Linked DNA regions of Homo sapiens: all the other regions are linked to region 1. The links are contacts of gene promoters, found by promoter capture Hi-C in blood cells and fetal thymus (Javierre and others, 2016). All regions are on one chromosome and are shown on one strand. The core of a region is centred on a gene start or on the middle of the fragment in contact, and the rest is flanking DNA. Distances in the headings are between cores, read along the strand shown. Region 1 holds the start of SLC45A4 (solute carrier family 45 member 4). Region 2 overlaps PTK2 (protein tyrosine kinase 2). Region 3 overlaps PTK2 (protein tyrosine kinase 2). Region 4 overlaps PTK2 (protein tyrosine kinase 2). Region 5 overlaps PTK2 (protein tyrosine kinase 2). Region 6 overlaps LOC124902030 (a long non-coding RNA gene).

Evidence for each region. Contacts are between HindIII fragments. The CHiCAGO score rates a contact against its expected background, and 5 or more counts as called.
Region 2: a contact is called between a fragment that was not itself captured here and the fragment with the promoter of SLC45A4 in region 1, in 1 of 17 cell types (total B cells). The highest score is 5.1, in total B cells.
Region 3: a contact is called between a fragment that was not itself captured here and the fragment with the promoter of SLC45A4 in region 1, in 4 of 17 cell types (naive B cells, total B cells, total CD8 T cells and 1 more). The highest score is 9.9, in naive B cells.
Region 4: a fragment that was not itself captured here is called in contact with the fragment with the promoter of SLC45A4 in region 1 in 3 of 17 cell types (naive B cells, total B cells and total CD8 T cells); the score reaches 7.0 in naive B cells.
Region 5: a contact is called between a fragment that was not itself captured here and the fragment with the promoter of SLC45A4 in region 1, in 3 of 17 cell types (monocytes, total B cells and naive B cells). The highest score is 9.4, in monocytes.
Region 6: a contact is called between a fragment that was not itself captured here and the fragment with the promoter of SLC45A4 in region 1, in 2 of 17 cell types (neutrophils and monocytes). The highest score is 8.4, in neutrophils.

What each region holds. Positions count from the first base shown.
Region 1 is chr8:141,306,513-141,309,832 of GRCh38, forward strand. SLC45A4 (solute carrier family 45 member 4) reads right to left here and starts at 1,776. Exons shown (of 9, transcript NM_001286646.2): 1 at 1,584-1,776. RefSeq lists silencers at 1,652-1,751, 1,772-2,011. The HindIII fragment of the contact is 5,295 bases long and covers 1-3,320 here.
Region 2 is chr8:140,799,632-140,802,951 of GRCh38, forward strand. PTK2 (protein tyrosine kinase 2) reads right to left here. Exons shown (of 36, transcript NM_001352702.2): 12 at 828-945. Among named protein-coding and RNA genes, the nearest start is that of MIR151A, 69 kb to the left of the region's middle. The HindIII fragment of the contact is 2,299 bases long and covers 425-2,723 here.
Region 3 is chr8:140,820,745-140,824,064 of GRCh38, forward strand. The region is part of intron 8 of PTK2 (protein tyrosine kinase 2); the gene reads right to left. Among named protein-coding and RNA genes, the nearest start is that of MIR151A, 90 kb to the left of the region's middle. The HindIII fragment of the contact is 6,171 bases long and covers 1-3,320 here.
Region 4 is chr8:140,837,462-140,840,781 of GRCh38, forward strand. All of the region lies in intron 7 of PTK2 (protein tyrosine kinase 2), which reads right to left. Among named protein-coding and RNA genes, the nearest start is that of MIR151A, 110 kb to the left of the region's middle. The HindIII fragment of the contact is 3,778 bases long and covers 1-3,320 here.
Region 5 is chr8:140,940,097-140,943,416 of GRCh38, forward strand. The region is part of intron 1 of PTK2 (protein tyrosine kinase 2); the gene reads right to left. It also overlaps the pseudogene RNA5SP278. Among named protein-coding and RNA genes, the nearest start is that of PTK2, 60 kb to the right of the region's middle. The HindIII fragment of the contact is 5,639 bases long and covers 1-3,320 here.
Region 6 is chr8:141,033,643-141,036,962 of GRCh38, forward strand. LOC124902030 (a long non-coding RNA gene) reads right to left here. Exons shown (of 2, transcript XR_007061121.1): 2 at 2,915-3,262. Among named protein-coding and RNA genes, the nearest start is that of PTK2, 34 kb to the left of the region's middle. The HindIII fragment of the contact is 1,736 bases long and covers 746-2,481 here.

The DNA of each region.
Region 1 (3,320 bases), core at 526-3,025:
TTAACAATAATTCAAACCTAGCAGAAAAGTGAGGACACTATACATTTCTTTTAAGGACAGTGTGTGTTACCTGCTCTGATCCCCATGTGTTACACTCCCTAACCTGTACACCAATACTCCAGCTTTTTGTTTTCTTATTTTTTCCTAAAGCCAGCACAAAATAACAGAAGGATAAGATTCCTACCACATTCTACCTGTCTGCCAATGACACAGGAAGGATGAGACCGTCTGGGGAATGGAAGCGCAGGGCGCTCTCAGTAATGCTGGGCAGATGCAGTGGCTTTTCCCCAGCAGAAATGGGCTTCGATTCAGAATCTACCAGCCCACAAGAATCATCTGACCCCACAACAATTAGTTCAATCACTCATCTGGTAAACCCTCCTCGCTCCGGGTCATAGACTGGAAAAGACAGCCCCCAAAACAGTAATAAAAACGACAAGCCCTGTTTTGCTGGAGTCAGCTGAGGTATCAGATGGGGGTCAGTGGCTAGGTCTGTGAACCTGAAGCCACACTCCATCAGTGACCCGCACTGGAGAGACACAAACACCTCAGGCTCCTTAGGAGGTCAAGCGGCCCTTCCCAGCCCTCCCTAGCCCCCGCCTTCTAGAATCATTCTGAATAGCTAACCAGGAGGCTGGGCCCCGTGTGGATCCGCCTCCGCTGGAAAAGCCGCTGCTGGAAGTGCTCCAATCCAGAGCAGGATACCTGGGGGAGGAACGGGTTAAGCGCAAAGGGGAAAGGGGCAGCGGGTGCTGAGACGCAGAAGGTGCGGGGACTTCTACAGAGCAGGGAATCTGGGCCCGGATGAACTGATGCCCTGGCCTCTTTCCTCCAGGGACAAGGTCGGTCTCAGGAAATCAAGGTATCTTCAAAGGGACACAAGGGAGCGCAGTGCCGATGAGACCGGGGCAGAGCCACAGTCTGGCGGTGCAGGCTGGGGGTCCGAGGCGGGGGACACTGGCTAGCAGTGCTGCCAGGGTCGTGTGTGCACTGGGCAGAGGGAAAGGAGGGGAAGAAGGGAAGGGGAAGAAGGGGAAGAAGGGAGTGTGTTCGGTTGGGAGGACCGGTCCAGACAGAGGGGAGAGGGGGCCACTTCGCGAGTGGTGTATCGCTGGTTGAATTCTCATAAGTTAGAGATAGCAGGCAGGGGTTAGAAGGACAAGACAGGGTCAGGACCAGGAGTTAGAGGCGCCAGGCTCCTCTCTGGGTAGAGAAACCGAGGAACTGGGGGCGGGGAGGACTGATGGGTGCGAAAGCGGGCCGGGTCCAAATGAAGGCGCGCGCCCCGGGGTGGGGGCCGGGGTGGGGGGAATGAGGGAGGCTGCAGGGCTGGGGACCAGGGCAGGTGCAATCCGGAAAGAGGAGGCGGGAAGGAATTGGGGGGCCCTGAGGAGCCAGCGCAAGCCGGGTGGGGGCACGTCCCCTCCCCCGGAGAAGGTGCGGGGCTGGGGCTGCGGCGCGGACCCGACCTGGAGGCCGAGGCTGTGCGGGAGGTGGGGGTGGGGAGGCTGCAGGTGCCCGGCGCCCAGGTGCGAGGTGCAGGGGGCGGCGGGGCAGGCGGCTGCGGGCGGCAGGCCACTCACCTGTCTCCTCCGGCCGGGGCCGCGGGGGCGGCGGGGCGGCCGGGCCGGGCCGGGCAGGGGCTACGGGGGCGCGGAGCCCCGGGCGCACCGGGGTCGGGAGGCGGCTGCGGGTCCGGGCGGGGGCTGCTCCCTCGGCCGGCCGGCCGGGCGGTCAGTCAGCGACGCGGGCGCGGAGAGAGCGCTGCGAGGCTGCGGCCGGCGCGCGGAGACAACGCCGCTTTATCGGGTCGGAAACAGCCGCTCCGCGCCGCTTCCGCTGACGCAGCGCCGGCCCCTGCGCCTCATGACTATGCAGCACCCGCCGCCGCGGGACGGGGATTCGGGGGGCGGGGTCTGCGCCGCGCGCGCTCATTGGCCTCCGCTGCCGCCCACCCCGCCCCCGAACGGCCGCCCCGCCCCCGCCGCGCCCCTGCCCCGCCCCCGCGCGCACCGTGGCTCCCGCCCCCGTCTCGCCATGGCCCCGCCCCCAGCCATAATCCAGCCCCGCCCCCGCCCTCCTCCCGCTACGCCCCCGGCCCCGGCCCCGGCCCCGGCCCCTCCGCACCGAGCGTCCGCCCTCTCTCCCCTAAAGCGCTGGCCCGCAATCCACCCCATCCCTCTCTGCAGCCGCAGGAGGTGGCCCCCGCCTGTCCCCACCTTCTCTCCCCGCTCCTCTCGCCACTCTGTCGCAGAGGGGTCCGGCTAGCCACGAGGCCCCGGCCCCCGGCAGCCCAGCCCCTTGGCAAGCACCCTCCCGCCCCCTCCGCCCCTGCCCGTGGCGCGGCGACATGGGCCCCATCCAGGTGCTGCAGCCCCTCCTCCGCTGCAGGAGAAAACTCTCCTGTTTTCCCCTCCCTGCCACCCTCCGAAGACCTCCTACCTGGTCCCGGACCACGCCCCCGTCCCCAACTCCCCCAACGCCCCGCGCTCTGCGGGTCCCCTCTCCAACCTGGAGAGCGGGGCAGGACGAAGACCCGACCCGGAGCTTCCTGGAGGCTGGGCCTCCCTCTCAGGCTTGGCCCTGGCCAGGGACACTGATCCGTCTCTCCCCACGTGTAGAAGGGCCACAATCCCTAGGGCAGGACTGCTGGGAAACCCCATCAAGACAAGGTCTGGGGAGGCGGCTTTAACAGACAGATGTGATGGGCTGAGGCCAACCCTGTTAACGTCGCAGCCCTGCACCCTTGCCAGGGTTTAAGTTGCTTTGGAGGAATTACTTCATTTCTCAGAACCTTGGCGTCCTCATCTGTAAAATAGAAATCGTAAGATCCATCTCACCTGTTGCTAAAGGAATTTAGAAGTGAAGTGCAGAGCAGAGCCTCCAAGAGCATCGGAAATGGGAAAATCTGACCATATCAAGTGTTGACAAGGAAATGGAGCAACTGGAACTGCCAGACACTGTTGGTGGACATGCAAAGTGGTACAACTTTCAAAATCTTTTTGAAAGGCCTTGATTACCCAGCAATTCTGCTCCTAGATACACACCTAACATTGTGTTTCTGTTGATAGCAGCAGTGTTTATAATTGCCCCAAACTGGAAACTACTGAAATGCTCATCAGCCGTTAAATGGATACATAAATTGTGATATATTCACACAGTGGAATGACAGCAATGACAGTGAATAATCAACTACACACAACAACATGGATGACTCTCACAAATGATGTTGAGGAAAAGAAGCCAGAGGATAAAAAGCCATATTTGTTTCCATGTGGATAAAGTGGTAGAAGGTGTATATGGGGGTAGCAGTCAGGATA
Region 2 (3,320 bases), core at 324-2,823, 510 kb before region 1:
ACAATACAACTAAAATCTAGGAGCATCAAGTGTGCCAGGCATAGTTCCAAGCCTATAAATAAGTCCTTTATCCTCCTAATACCATAGAAGACAGTTACTGTTCTTCGTGTTTGACCAGATGACAGAACTGAGGCTCAGAAAAGTAATTTATAGATGGTGTCACAGAGGACTCATGATTTGAACTTAAGTCCCATAATTCCCAAACTCAGTCTTTCCCTGCTTCACACTATGTATGCTATTATCCTGCTGGGAATATTTTCATTTGATTCTTTCAGAAATCCAAATCCTCAAAAGCATTCCTCATTATATGCTTGCAAAAACTCCACACCGCTTTTATAGTGACGTTTCTAGGATATTTATTCATTCTAATCTTTGATTTTTTAACATCATGACTTAGACTGTACTTTCTTCTTTGAATGCTCTAAGCTTTTGAGATATATAAGAAAAAGTAGAAAGGACACTTTATTTATAGTGAGTTATAACGGATTCCTTTTTTTAAACCCAGAATTTTATTTAAACCCAAAATTTTAAAAATACTAATGTATTTAAAAATAGTAATGGCAATTTAGAAAATCCTCTAAGTAGGTAGCTCAAAACACAGACAATGTTTTTTTTAGGCTCTATTCAAACCCAGCTCTTGGCTTGTGGAAGGTGTGAAACGGATCACCATCCCTAGAAAAATAAGTCCTCAGATTATACTGAGCTGAATTATTCATTTGGTCTTCATTTTTACAGTTACCTAAAAGAGGATAACAGGCTGTTAGGGGCAAGCACAGCTAAATATTTGGTAGAAGCGCAATTGGGAATGCTCAGAAACAGCACCTCACCTTTCTGAGGTCTGATGATAAATGACTGCGAGGTTCCATTCACCAGCCGGCAGTACCCATCTATTAGGTCAGCCATATTCTCCGCAATGGTTAGGGATGGTGCCGTCACTGTCAGAGGCTAACGGAGAAAAGATCAAGAAAACAGACTTCATTGTTCTTCCCAGTAAGCAAAGGACAGCTGTGCTATGACATCAGACATCTCTATACACTTGAAAACAGAGAAGAGTGGGAATGAAACAAGATTTGTCATGAGATTTGAGAAAGGAAATCTGATATTTAAGGACATTATTCCTAGAATATGTGACAAATGCAAACCCAGATGAAAACAGAAAAATCACTTAAACTGGGGCTCACTTTCTAGAATCAAAAGAGATGAAAAAAGTATTTTCCTTCAGAGTGTCTGGCCCCTCTGGCATACTCCAGTTAAGGGAAGAATTTAGACAATCAGTAAGTTAAAGTATGACTTCTATCAGAAACTAATGTGGAGTAAATTTTTTATCAACCATCCATCATAATTTCTAATGTAAAAGAAAATTAATAAAATTTCATTATTTTTAGCACATATAGCATGTTCGCCCAAGGGCTTAGAAATCATTCTCTTTCCAATATAAAATTTGATATTGTTTGGTAATATTTGCTTAATCTCCAGAATCAACAAGAGTTCCTAGAGCCCTCAGATGTCACCAAACTCACAGAATCACAGGGCAGAAGAGTGACGAGGCATCAGCCTAAGTGAGGAGTGCTGCAAATAAAGCTACCCAGAGAACTGGCCGTTAACAGACCAAAGAATCCTGGTGTGCTGATGGAAACAGATGAGCTTCAAAAAACATGCTTTACACACCAGCACAACCGTGTGTGCCACCAGACTGTCCAGATCCTTTCATACACGAGTGTATTTTGTCCATCTTGCAGAAAGGACCACATTAGGTAGTATTTGCCAAATGGCTCTTTCTCATGCCACTTGTTTTAAATCACTGTTGCCTGTTGATTAAGAACACAGGCTTTGGATCCAGACTGTTTGGGTATGAACCCCATCTCTTGTCAATTACTTGATGTGGCCAACCTCTCATGCCTCAGTTTCCTCAGCTACAGAATGGGGTTAACCAAAGTATATCAAAGTATCTACTTCCTTGGTTGTGACAATGACACAGCTTCTCTTGGCTTCTGCGTAAAGAACCACAGGTAGCATGTGCCCAGTATCAGGTACTGCTGCTGTTATAATTATTATAATCATATAATAATAACTATTATAATCACATAATAATTTCTACCCAGAGAATATCATGGACAACACAGTGTGGAAATTAACTCAGTTTACAGTATATATAGTCAATGCACCACATAACAACATTTTGGTCAATGATGGTCCGCATATACAATGGTGGTTCCATAAGATTTATATAATAGAGCTAAGAATTCCTATTGCTAGGTATGCCGTAGCCATCCTGAAGTTGTAATGCTCATGTTTATGGTGAAGCTGGTGTAAAAAAAATCTACTGTGCTGCCAGTCTTATAAAAGTATAGCACATACGATTATGTACAGCACATAATACTGGATAATGACTATGTTACTGGTTTATGTATTTACTATTTTTTTTTTAATTAGAATGTACTTCTACTTATTTAAAAAAAAAAAGTTAAATGTAAAACAGCCTCAGGCAGGGCTTCTAGAAAGTATTCCAGAAAGTGGCACTGTTCTCATAGGAGATGACAGTTTCATGTGTGTTACGGCCCCTGAAGACCTCCCAGTGGGACAAGATGTGGAGGTAGAAGATGGTGATATGGATACTCTTGACCCTGTGTAGGCCTAGGCTAGCGTGTATGTTTGTGTCTTACTTTTTAACAAAAAAGCTGAAAAAGTAAAAAACACAGAAAATCATTTTAAAACTAGAAAAAAGCTTACAGAATAAGTATGTAAAAAAAGAAAATTTTTTGTACAGCTGTACAATATATTTAAAATTAATTGTTATTACAAGAGTCAAAAAAGCCGAAAAAAATCAGTTTATAAAATATAAAAGTTACTGTAAGCTAATGTTTACTACTGAAAAAGGTTTTAAAAATAAATTTAAGTATATGGTGTGTACAGTGTTTATAGTCTACAGCAGTGCACAGTAATGTCGTAGATCTTCACATTCATCCTTCACTCACTGACTCACCCACAGCAGCTTCCAATCCTGCAAGCTCCACTCATGGTAAGGGCTCTATGCAGGTGTAACATTTTTTATCTTCTATACTGTATTTTTACTGTGCCTTTTCTATGTTTACATATATTTAGAGATACAAATACCATTGTGTTACAATTGCCTAAAGTATTCAGTATAGTAGCATGCTACACAGGTTTGTAGCTTAGGGCAACAGGCTATATTGTATAGCCTAGGTGTACAGTAGGCTACAACCATCTTAGGTTTGTGTAAGAACAGTCTGTGATGTTTGCACAACAAAGAAATCAGGGAATTAGGCATTTCTCTGAACGTACCTGTTGTTAAGCAAAAC
Region 3 (3,320 bases), core at 273-2,772, 490 kb before region 1:
TACCAGAAATCCAAGTGGAGCTGTCAAGCAGGCCAGTAAGGGCCCAGTGGAGTTCAAGGGGAGGTCCTGGCTGGCCCAGCAGACAGGGAAGATGGATTAGGTGACCTGCTAATCTCAGTGGGTCAGGGACATGGGGAGCAGCCAGGGGCCCAGGTTGAGGTGTGGCTGCTAAGTCAGGTACACCGTAAACTAGGAGGGCATGGCATACTTTGGTGGGGTCATGGAGGTAATAGCCTGTCTGTAGTGGCTTGAAGGTCCTAGTAGGATCCAAGGATTACTGGATCTGGGATACTACAGAAAGTGAGCTGGAAAGACAGGAGCTATGGTCAGAGAGAAGGATACACACAATTAGGGAGGGGGTTCGATTACTGGAAATGAATAAGACCAGAGTGAGAGGTTGAGGTAAGGCAGAGGACAAGATTCCTGAAGACAGGAATTCAATGAGCCAAGATAGTGGAACATGGGAGGATTACCTAAGGCATGTGACTTTTATTTTAAAAAGCTCGCTCTGCTCTTGCACACAGAGGGTTGGGGGAGTGTGTAGGAGTGAAAGCAGAAAGACCAGTCAGGTCACTGTAACAGATCAAGCAAGAAAACACTAGTGGCATGGACCCCAAGGTAGTGGTGAAGAAGAGAAATGGGCACTTTTGGGACATTTGGATGATCATATGCAAGACAACTGGAAAGTAAAGAATCCAGGAAAAGTAGAGTTTTAGATGGAACAAACAGGCAAACATAAGAGGCAGGCTTGGTGAAAAAAATAAAGTCATGTTAACCCTGTACATGTGTTTGACCTTGAAGTCTTCCAACATGAACCATCAAGGAGACATTTGGATCTAAGTCTGGAGCTCAGGAGAGGGCAGCACTGTTGCTAGAAATTTCAGAGCCACCAGCTGAAGTATTTAAATACATGGGACTAGATGGCACCTGCAAATAAAATGAAGACAAAAGAGAAGGCCAAAGCTAAGTAAGCTGACCAATAGTTGGTTTTAACCAGGGCTGAGGTTTTGACAGGTGAGTATGACAGAGTGGAATAAGAGAATTATAGCTGTTTTGAAAAGGATTAATTACAGCTTCACAGAACTTAAACTGAAGAGCAATAAAATGGGTTCAAGGTTAGCAAGGCTTGACTATAAAATGTATCACATGGAAAGTGAGGTGGTCAGCCTCAGATGCTCTATAAACAAAAGTCCGAAAAGCATATTCTTGGTTTGACTCCAGGCTTTCTAAACATTCTCTGCTTATGATCACCTATGTAGGACAGACTCTACAACAGAGCATGCAGATTGGACATGGAGATTTGAGTACTGCTTGTAGCCACCTACATGATGTTTTTCTCCTTATAAATTAACAATATAGTACCTTGGGACTTTGCTGAATATAAAGCAGTCTCTAAGAAGCAGGCCCGCTACACTCTGGACCTAGAACAAATCCACTAAGGAAATTCTACTCTGTGCTTGGCACTTGGCATACACTGCATAATCAGAACAGGTATCTATTCTCAATAAATTCAGAGTACAGCTGGAAAAAGAGCATTCTGATCTTCATTCATGGCTACAGGAGGAACAGTATAATTCTGTGCATATAGTGCTATTAGGCGCTGATTCACACACACACACACACACACAAACACACACACACTACCAAAAAATGATACCAGAAAAGACATCTGTAGGCCCTTCCGTGGAAATAAACAAAGTCTTCACAATGACCCTTGCAAGGGAGATACTATTTTTCATATATTACTGAGCAAACAGAGACTGAAACATTAGGTAACAACGAGGGGGTACAAGAATTGTGATTCTAATCCAGAACTACTTGATTTCTTTTTACTTGCTATGAGACCAATTCAAACACCTCCTTTTCTAAGATGCTCTGCTTGATAGAAGAAACCAGGAAGAAACAACCACCACATCCCTATGGGTCTCATACTGCTTTGAATGTATTTTTAGACATGGCACTTATATAAGATCCACGTTGGTGATAAGGGAGCATGCACTGCCTTGTTACCCCAAAGAAAAGAGTATAGCCCGCAGCTGAAACTCAATGATGTGCTTTTACAATGAATAATTACATGTCTCTGCCATAACAACTTGGATTCTGGCAAACTCTCAAACAGATAATATGGATGAATAAAATCTAGTTCTATCCTGTGATAAATTAGGTTTCACTTTCTAGTAAGTAAGTGGGAAGACAGTTCAGATTTCTTTAGTTTCAAACTTCTATCATAGAACATGCTGCCTCAATGTACAAATGCTCTGAGTGTAAGAAATGTCTCCCATCTACAAGTATTAATAGAAAATAAGTCCAGCAAAAGCCCTGGAATATAAAAAAATCTCTTTAAGTGTATGATACAATAAATTGGAATATGGTAGCAGTTGCAAGGAACAGTTGTCAACTGAACACAGGGACCAGAACACAATGACAAAACATTTCTATTAACATTAACCAAATGTTGGTATATTCATTCATGACTCTAAGAGGAATATTTCAACTCAGGTAAATACTGACATGCAGTGATCAAAAATTATGTAAAATAGGTACAGAAAAAAAGTCAATTCTCTACTTTGTACCTAATTCCCAACCAGCTGCTGGTTTATATATAAATTATTGGCAATATTATAATATACTGACACCTGCTCATTTGTTCAATGCTTTTTAAAATTAACCTAAAACATTCTATGAAGTAACGGAGATAGAAGTCGAGGAAACAGAATCTGCTCTTGAGGTTAAAATGCATATATATATATACACACCTGCCTACCTGACAGTTCCACTGCAGTTTCTCACAGACATCTAAAACCTGCCACTAAGAGCACTGAGATTTCAGCCGTGGTGGCTTATTGGCCCTACCCGACTGGACCCTAACATATACATCTAACTTGGTTGCAACTCTATCACTCTGAACTTACTCTTTCCTATACCCCTTCCCTTTGACCCCCATAGTCTCCAGGCACTTCTAGTTCACTACTTACACAGCTGAATGCATCACGGGCAGTCCCACCCAGTTCAGATTCTGCTTCAATATTGTCTCTTGACTAGTAGCACTAGACAGCACTTAAGTGTATGGGACAGAAATCTGAGGCCAGGCCCTGTATTTTCTTCTTCCTCCTCCCACATTAGACCAGTAGCTAAGTCCTGTTAGACTTTACGCCCGTAACATTCTTCAAATGTAACCCAACAACTCTCTACCCTCTGCCTCCTTTAAATTCAAGCCCTCCTTGTTTCTCTTGGCCTCTTATTTCTCAGCATCTGATGACTAAGAATCTTAAAAAGAAGTTGTGTGCTGTTCTTCTACAACAGGGATTGAAGCCATCAAC
Region 4 (3,320 bases), core at 540-3,039, 470 kb before region 1:
CTCACACCTGTAATCCCAGCACTTTGGGAGGCCAACGCGGGTGGATCACTTGAGGTCAGGCATTCAAGACCAGCCTGGCCAACATGATGAAACCCCATCGCTACTAAAAATAAAAAAATTAGCTGGGCGTGGTGGTGCACACCTGTAATCCCTGATACTTGGGTGGCTGAGGTAGGAGAATCACTTGCACCTGGGAGGTGGAGGTTACACTGGGCTGAGATCATGCCACTGCACTCTAGCCTGGGCAACAGAGAGAGACTCTGTCTCAAACAAACAAACAAAAACAAAAAAAGTCATTTAGAAATACAGTAAAGCAGCTGGGCACGGTGGCTTACACCTGTAATCCTAGCACTTTAGAAGGCCGATGCGGGCTGATCACTTGAGGTCAGGAGTTCAAAATCAGCCTGGCCAACATGGTAAAACCCCATCTCTACTAAAAATACAAAAAAAATTAGCCGGGCACAGTGGTGGGCACCTGCAATCCCAGCTACTTAGGAGGCTGAGGCAGGAGAATTGCTTGAATCCAGGAGGAGGAGGTTGCTGCAAGCCGAGGTCACGCCACTGCACTCCAGCCTGGGCAACAGAGCAAGACTCCATCTCAAAAAAAAAAGTACAGTAAAGCTGAAAGGGCATTGTGCATTAGGCTGTAAACAACTGAGTTTGACTTTAAAATTCCTGCCGGAATCTAATAAATTATGTGGAACATATCATGAGTTTTCTTATTAGAAAGGAAAAAGAGAACCATGAAATGAACTAATAAGAAACAAGCAGTATTCTGTATTCATGTATAATTCCTTTCTGTACCGAAGAAATATAAATTTCTAAATGGCTCCAAGTTACTAGCCAAAACCAATAGGAAAAAGAAATGCCAACACACTCCTTGAGAGAGCTGCTGGGGTTCCCAGTTGCTCCTGTGGTAGAACAGCCATGGTGTGTGCATGCGAGTCCCTGCACATCCTCTCAGCCAGGCCACTCCTAAAGCACTGGCATCAGCCTTTACAATGGCCAAATGCAATATTGTTAAGTATCTTTATTATATAAAATGTAACCAGGTTAATAGTTACATTTTCTCTGTTAAGCTATTATCGGGCCAGATATGGTGACTCATACCTATAATCTCAGCACATTGGGAGGCCAAAGTGGGAAGATTGCTTGACCAGCATCTGTTAAGCTACCTTTCAAGAACAAGGGTGAAATTTTTTAAAAAGAGACAGATTTAAAAACAGAATTTTATTATCAAAAACTACATATTAAAAACTTCTAGGCCGGGCGCGGTGGCTCACGCTTGTAAGCCCAGCACTTTGGGAGGCCGAGGCGGGCGGATCACAAGGTCAGGAGATCGAGACCATCCTGGCTAACATGGTGAAATCCCGTCTCTACTAAAAATACAAAAAATTAGCTGGGCATGGTGGCGGGCACCTGTAGTCCCAGCTACTAAGGAGGCTGAGGCAGGAGAATGGTGTGAACCCAGGAGGCGGAGCTTGCAGTGAGCCGAGATCGCGCCACTGCACTCCAGCCTGGGCACAGAGTGAGACTCCGTCTCAAAAAAAAAAACAAAAAAAAAACTTATAAGTAAAAGTAAAAGGGAAACTAATGTTGGAAACAGATTGAGCTACAATGAAGAATGTTTAGGCAACAGGGTGATAAACATGCCGGTTTCTAGGACGCCCCCAGCACACACACACTAACACAAAGCACGACAGGCAGAAGGGAAACTGTTTTTGGGTTTCTGGACCGACGGTACCTGCAAGGTGGGGATGATGAACCCGGCGCTTGGGCACTGAGGTTGGACCTGACGAAGGCGGAAGTGGCATCATTTCCTGGCTCTTGCCAGAAGCCGCAGCAGTGTAAACAAAGCCCCCTGGAACTCAGCTTGCCCAGTCTAGGGCCACCAGCCTCTAATCCAAGCCACTTTGGTGGCCTGAGTGAGAGTCAGAGTAACAGCAGATTGAGACACCCCAGTACCTCAAGGTTATTGTCAAATACAGAACAGAAAACAGCTATGCATAAAAACTTGAAGAAATAAACGGCACAAACACCACAGATGGGCATACCAGAGGTTACCAAGCATGAAGAAGATTACATCACATGAAATGGAATGTCTAGAAATGAAAAAATATAAGTGGTAGAATGAAAAAAACAATGAACAACGTATGGCATAAAGATACTACTTAAGAGAATTAAAGAATTATAAGACAAATCCAAAGAAATATCTCCCCCAAAAAAGAGAGAATCCAGAGAGACAGAGAGATAGAAAACACGAAAAATGTAAGAGACAGCAAAGATCAGAAATATATCTGTTGATTATTAAAGAGATAGTGGCATATATTTTCCAGATGAAAAACATGAATCTACAGAATTGAGAAGTATGTCTTATTCCAACTGGATTTATAAAAAGAAATCGAAGCACAAGACATGAATAAAACTAGAAAAGATGAAAAGTAGGAAAAGGACCTTAAAAGAAAGAGCAACCATAAAGAAATGTCAACAGACATTTCTTGTCATAACAGAGTATCTTTACAGTGTTGAGAAAAAAACAATGAGCAGAACAATATATTTGGAATAAAAGGAAAAGCATACCAGAAGGGTGGTCTGAGATACAAAAATGGTTATTTTAAGCAAGGTCTTCCTCTGTTGCCCAGGCTGGAGTGCAGTGGCATGATCATAGCTCACTGCAGCCACAACAAGCTGGGCTCAAGCAATCCTCCAGCCTCAGCCTCCCGACTAGGTGAGACCACAGCTGCGTGCCACCGCGCCTGGCTAATTTTTATAATTATTTGTAGAGATGAGGTCTCGCTATGCTATCCGTGCTGGTCAAGCCATCTTCCTACCCTGGCCTCCCAGTGTGCTGGGATTATAGGTTATGAGCCACTGCACCTGGCCCAATATAGGATGTTTAAGAAATAAAATCATATACATGTAGGGAAAGCCAAAAATAATAACTGTATAAAATAATAATAATGTCTAATATTTGGAGTTTCAATTTTGAAAAGATATAACTAAAATAACAGGAAAAAATGATGTGTAAGTTGGAAGAAGATGGGGAGAGTTAAGGTGTTTAAAGGTCCTTGTATTGTTTAAGAGAGGGTTAGATAAGTTTAAAATCTGGAGTTGGTTAATATAGAAGGTTAAATGTAAGGGTAACTAATGAAAGAGTAGAGATGTTTATAAATTTCAACGTAATTACAGAAGAAAATGTGGAATAAGAATACCAACTAAGAAATACACAGCACATGCACTCACACACAGCTTATTTCTAGGACACCGGAAATAAATAATAAAAGCGAGTCCAATATATCACGCATCCTAAGAAATACAGA
Region 5 (3,320 bases), core at 263-2,762, 370 kb before region 1:
CTGTTCGTATTGACATATCCTAACATATCCCTGATAGGATGGGCAAGTAATAAATACAGACTTTTGCTTGAAGAACTTGGGATTAACAGTTATGTTCATGATGAAAAACACAACATCCTGTACATCAGGAAAGAAACACTACTTTGCATTTGGGAGGCCGAGGCGGGTGGATCACCTGAAGCCAGGAGTTCGAGACCAGCCTGGCCAAAATAGTGAAACAAAAAAATTGGCCAGGTGTGGATGGCGCCACTTGAGAGACTCAGGCAGGCCTGAACCCGGGAAACGGAGCTTGCAGTGAGATGAGATAGTGCCACTGCACTCCAGTCTGGGTGACAAAGCGAGACTCTGTCTCAAAAAAAAAAGACTAAAGAGTCATGACTATATATTACAAGTGATTCCAGACAGGATCCTGTATCAAGGGTAAGAACTGCTATAAGGGACATCACTTGCCAAAATATGACCATGGTCTACAGCCATGCCATCCAATCTCAAAAGCTAAGCAGCGTGGGGCCTGGTTAGTAGTATTGGGATTGGGAGGCTGCCTGAAAATACTGGGTGCTGTAGGCTTAAAATAAAATTGTTTTTTTAATATGAACATGGCCGGGCACAGTGGCTCACGCCTGTAATCCCAGCACTTTGGGAGGCTGAGGCAGGCAGATCACCTGAGATCAGGAGTTCAAGACCAGCCTGGACAACATGGTAAAACCCTGTCTCTACTAAAAATACAAAAATTAGCCGGGCATGGTGGTGAGTACCTGCGCTACTTGGGAGGCTGAGGCAGGAGAATTGCTTGAACCCAGGAGGCAGTGGTTGCAGTGAGCTGAGACCACACCATTGCATTCCAGCCTGGGTGACAAGAGCGAAACTCCATCTCAAAAAAAATTTTTTTAATTAAAAAAAAATAAATTCAACATGTGTAATACAACAATCACACACATAAATTCAACTGAAATGAACACAATATGAACAGCTATCCCAAGTTCATGCAATGACAAGTGAACCATGAATGACTGCCACCTGGGCTACACCAACCGGAACTGTCACCAATTCTAAAAAGCGTACCAGCACACTTTTAAGCCTTCAAAACCAGGGTTAAGTTAATGAAGACATTCCCAGAGAAAAATACAGGGATGGAGTGAGACAATAAAATATAAAAAGCAGAACAATCAGCAATCTCCCTCCTGTTCCCAAACACCAAATGTCAAAGAGGCTACCATTAGATATTTACTGTGTGATCAACACACAAATAGTTCTCTGCAGAGGCTGTAATAAACAGGTCTCATCTGCTGGAGACAGTGTCTCAAGACACAGAAGAGCATATGCATTAAATAAACAAAAAGCAACTTAGGAAGCCCTACTGTAATGCACCTTATTCTATCACTGATTCTATTAGTGCCACACATTATAGTATATCCTGAAGATCGTAAAATGATGAGCTCATCATTTAAAATAAACTGATTTTTAAACGAAAATTAGAACATACAACTTTCTACTTTGATTCCACTCCTACTCACTGTTGTGGCTTTTTAACCAAGAGTTTATTGGGAAAAAAAATGCTAAATGGCTGCTCCACAGGACATCAACAAGTACCACAAAGTAGTAATGAGCAACTCTATTTTTTTTTTGGAGACAGGGTCTCACTTTTGTCACCTACGCTGGGATGCAGTGGCATGATCTCAGCTCAATGCAGCCTCGACCCCTCAGGCTCAGGCGATCCTCCCACCTCAGTCTCCCAAGTACCTGGGACTACAGGCACGCACCACCACGCCCAGCTAACTTTTTGTTTGTTTGTTTGTTTGTTTGTTTTATTGAGAGAGGGACTTGCTCTGTCGTCCAGGCTGCAGTGCAGTGGGGTGAACATAGCTCACTGCAGCTTGACCACCCCCAGGTTCAAGCAATTCTCCCGCCTCAGCCTCCCGAGTAGCTGGGACCACAGGCATGTGCCACCACACCTGGCTAATTTTAAAATTTTTTGTAGAGATGAGGTGTTGCCATGTTGTTCAAACTCCTGGGCTCAAGCGATCCTCCCACCTCAGCCTCCCAAAGGGTTGGGATTACAGGCATGAACCTCTGCACCTAGACTTACTATGTACATTCTTAATTCTAGCAGTTTAAAACATAAATGTACCCTACCATTATAGCTCATTAACTATTAACTAAAAGATGGAGCTGAAGACTGCATAGTTTCATCAATATAAGAAATAGCATTTTTATTTATAACGCTGATAAAACTATTTTTCTCCAGAGCTACAAGAACTTGAGCAACAAATACTAAAATAACTTTTAAACATCTTTTATTTCTGCTAATTATATGACCTTTATAATATACAATCTCATTATACAAAGACAAATATAAAGCCTTTAGGCCACAAATAAATCAGATTACATAAATGAATCAAGGACTTCAAGACTGTTTTCAAAAGCAGTGTCTACACTGAAATCTACTTCACTTCAACTTTGGTGGTACCTAATCCAGACAAATAAATGTTGATCCAGCTGGAAAGAAAATTTGAGCTCTAATGAGTGCGTGCGTGTGTGTGTGTGTGTGTGCGCGCATATATGTGTGCAAGAGTATATGGATAATATCTGTTTGCATATAAGTCACTTTTTCTTCTCTTTAAAGTTTTATTTCTTGAGGCATAACGTGCACAATAAAAACATCAGGTGGATGGTGATAAGGACTGGATCTGTTTCCCAGCCAAATCTCATGTTGAAATGTAGTCCCCAGTGTTGGAAGTGCAGCCTGGTAGGAGGTGTTTGGATCACGGGGGCGTATTCCTCATGAATGGCTTAGTGCCATTCCCTTGGTGACAAGCGAGTTCATGTGAGATCTGGTTGTTTAAAAGTGTATGGCACCTCCCACTCTCTCTCTTGTTCTCTCTTGCCATGTGACGCATCTGCTCCCACTTCACCTTCCATCATGAGTAAAAGCTCTCCGACGCCTCCCTGGAAGCCGGTGCCATGTTTCCTGTACAGCCCGCAGAACAGTGAGCCGATTAAACCTCTTTTCTTTACAAATTACCCAGTCTTGGGTATTTCTTTATACCAACGCAAGAACAGCCTAATACAAGTGGGTCTGTGTAACCACCACCACGCTGAAGACACAGACTATTTCCATCACCCCAAGAAGTGCCCCCATGCTCTTTTATACTCAATTCTCTCTTCCGCCCCAGGCAACCACTGATTTTATTTCTGTTCTTACAGATTTGACTTACCAAAATGTTATATAAATGAAATCACAGTTATATGGAGTTTAGTGTTTTCACTTAGTAGACTGCTTTGAAGATCTGCCCATTTTGTTAGGTGCGTCAGCAGTTAGT
Region 6 (3,320 bases), core at 364-2,863, 270 kb before region 1:
TATCTGCGGGGATTTGTGGGTTGGGTTCTACCAACTGTGGATTGAAAATATTTGGGGGAAAAAAATCCACAATGAAAAATAACAATAAAACAATAAAAATAATACACAATTTCAAAATACAGTATAACAACTATTTCCATAGCATTTTCATTATATTAGGTATTATAAGTAATCTAGAGATGATTTGAAGTGTACGGGAGAATGTGCATAGGTTGTATGCAAGTAATACTCCAATTTATGTAAGCAACTTGAACATCCTTGGATTTTAGTATCTGTGGGGGTCCTGGAATCAATCCCCCCACAGATATCAAAGGATAACTATACCTTTGTTTTAAAGAAAGTTGAGAAAACACGCACCAGCTTGGAGCTTGCTGGAGGCCGGGCAGAGGCAGACTGGCTGGGAAGGATTGTTTTCTTTTTTTTTTTGAGATGGAGTCTTGCTCTGTCACCCAGGCTGGAGTGCAGTGCCATCTTGGCTCACTGCAAGCTCCGCCTCCCGGATTCACGCTATTCTCCTGCCTCAGCCTCCAGAGTAGCTGGGACTACAGGCGCCCGCCACGACGCCCGGCTAATTTTTTTGTATTTTTAGTAGAGATGGGGTTTCACCATGTTAGCCAGGATGGTCTCGATCTCCTGACCTCGTGATCCACCCGCCTCGGCCTCCAAAAGTGCTGGGATTACAGGCGTGAGCCACCACGCCCAGACCAAGGATTGTTTTCTTTTACTTGCTGCCTAAATCCTTGGAAGCTTTGGGTGACCCTGGGAACAAGTGAAAGTAAGGCTTAGGTGGAGGCGGAGGCTGGGGGAGTTGTGGGAAGGCCACCCTCAAGGGCAGGTTGAGGGACTTCGGGGAGGGCCCTTCTTGAAGAGGCCAGGGTGGAAGACAGGAAGAGCTGTTTTGGAAAGCGAGGCTGGTGGATTTGGCTGAGGGTGTGCGGAGCTTGATGGGACAGAGAGGACTGAGCTGGTGGATACACACGGGAGCCAGGTGCTCAGGAGAGGCCAGGCTGGATGGGCACACCCGGGAGCCATCAGTCAGAGACGATGACAGCATTTTTGGCTCGAGTCTACAGGTACTTCTCTGGGGCCTGCGCTGCCCCCTCAGGCCACTTCTGCCCCTGCCCTGTGTCCCCAAGACATGCTCATCTCTGTGCCTGGCAGGGCTGGGCTCCTTCCTGCCTCCCTGCTTGACCAGGAGCCCCTGTAAGCCACCGACCATGCCCAGCTCATCTTAGAGGCCTCAGCTCCTGACCAGGGCCATCCACGTCAGCATGTGTGGATCCCAACTTCCTCCTAAACCCAGGAACTCCTCACCTTTCTGCTCACTCCACGGCATCACAGCAGTAGCAAGTACTCGCAATTCTTCCTCCCTGTCGTGAGTTGAATTGTGTCTTCCCAAAAGATCTGTTGAAGCTCCAGCTCCCAGTAACCGTGAATAGGACCTTATTTGGAAATAGGGTCTTTGTAGATGCAATCGCGTTAGGCTCAATTGGGGGGCCTAAACTTATCTGAGTGTCTTTATAAGAAGAGGTACGAGAGACCCACAGGAACACCACACTGGAGGCAGAGATTGGAGTGGGGCAGCTGAAAGCCAAGGAACGCTGAAGATTGAAACCAGAAGCTGGAAGAGGCAGGAAGGTTCTGCCCTTAGAGCCTGGCCCTGCAACACCTTGATTTCAGGCTTCAGTCTCCAGAACTCTAAAACAATACATTTCTGCTGTTTTCAGCCCGCATGTGTATGGTGCTTTGTTACGGCAGCCACAGGAAACCAGCACACTCCGTGAGGCCCTCTTTCCCATCTCCCCTCCTGCCCTCGCTCCCCACTGCCTGGCTCTGGCCTTCCCTGCTCTTCCCTTTCCATCCAGCAGCCCTGGTGCCACAGGAGGGCTGAGTCACAGGCTGAGTCACAGTGAGTCCCCAAGTGCCCAGTGCTGTCCCACACCTTTGCCCCTGCTGTTCCCCTGCCTGAGCTGCCCTCCCTCTTGTCTGATGGTGACTTCTACGCATCCTTCAAAACTCAGGTCATCTCCGTGGTAGGGCGGTTCTGACCTCCAGATTGAGGCAATCATTCCCTCCACTGTTCTTCCCTTCAGCTCACCTCTTGCCCCCACTCCTCATGGCAGAGCCAGTTTAATTGCTTCTTATTTATGCCCCCTTTCCCCCGCCTCGAAGCATGAGTCTCTTGAGAGCAGGGAGTATGTCCCGTGGCAGAGACTCAATCATGGAGATTGGTTGGCTGTGTAGAGGGCTGGATGAACGACTGCATAAAAAAACTGGTTGGCTGGATGGTCAGACAACAGAAAACCTGAGAAAACATCAACACAATTGGCTCTGCATGCGCGATGTGCTCTTGTGGCCCTGGTGTTAGCAGGGAGGGATCCAGGGTTTGTGGGATCCGATGCTGATACAACTGAGGGGCATCCCCTTCCAGAAAAAACTACAAAAGCAGGTACAGGGCTTTAGAGGGGGCGCAGAAACGTAAGCTTTATCAGCATCCCGGCAAATTCACCTTTGCTGTTCGCTTCGCTGGGCACACCCCCATGTCCCGGCCTTGAGCTCCTGCCGCGCTCACCACTTCCTCCTTGCCTGACCGCGGACCGCAGGCAGCACTTTCGCTGAGATTGCTTCCCCTTGAGGTCTGCAGGTCTCTGGGCCCGGGAGAGCCTCCGCTGTCTCAGGAGCACAGGCTGAAGCTTCATCAGCCTCCAGCCCAGCCAGGGTGAGCGCCACCTTTAGAATATGTTTGCCTTGCCTCCTCCCACATGCTGCCCCCGTGGCTGGCCAAGCTCCATGGGATGGGGGTGCCAAGGAGACCTACGTTTCTGTCACCTGCTTGCAGGCTTGCAGGATCGTGGAAGGGCTATTGTGGTATATTTGTTTTCAAAGCTCTTGTAACAAATGACCACCAACAGGGTGTCTTCAAACAACAGAAATTTATTCTTCCAGTTCTGGAGGCCAAATGTCCAGGTGCCGGCAGGGCCGCTGCCGCCAAAGGCTCTGGGGCAGGATCCTCCCCACTTCTTCCTGCTCCTGGTGGCTCCTGGCAGCTCCTGGCATTCCTTGGCTTGTCCTGCCTCCACCTTCACATGGCTTTCCCTCTCTGTCTTCCCACTTCTTATATGGACGCCGATCATTGGATTTAAGGCTCACCCTAAAGCCAGGATGATGTCAGCTCAAGATCCTTCACTTGCATCTGCAAAGACCTTTTTCCAAATAAGGTCACATTTACAGGAACCAAGGGGTTAGGACTTGAACAGATCTCCTGGGGGACACAATTCAGACTGTTACACATGGGGACAATGATCGGACCCCACCTCACC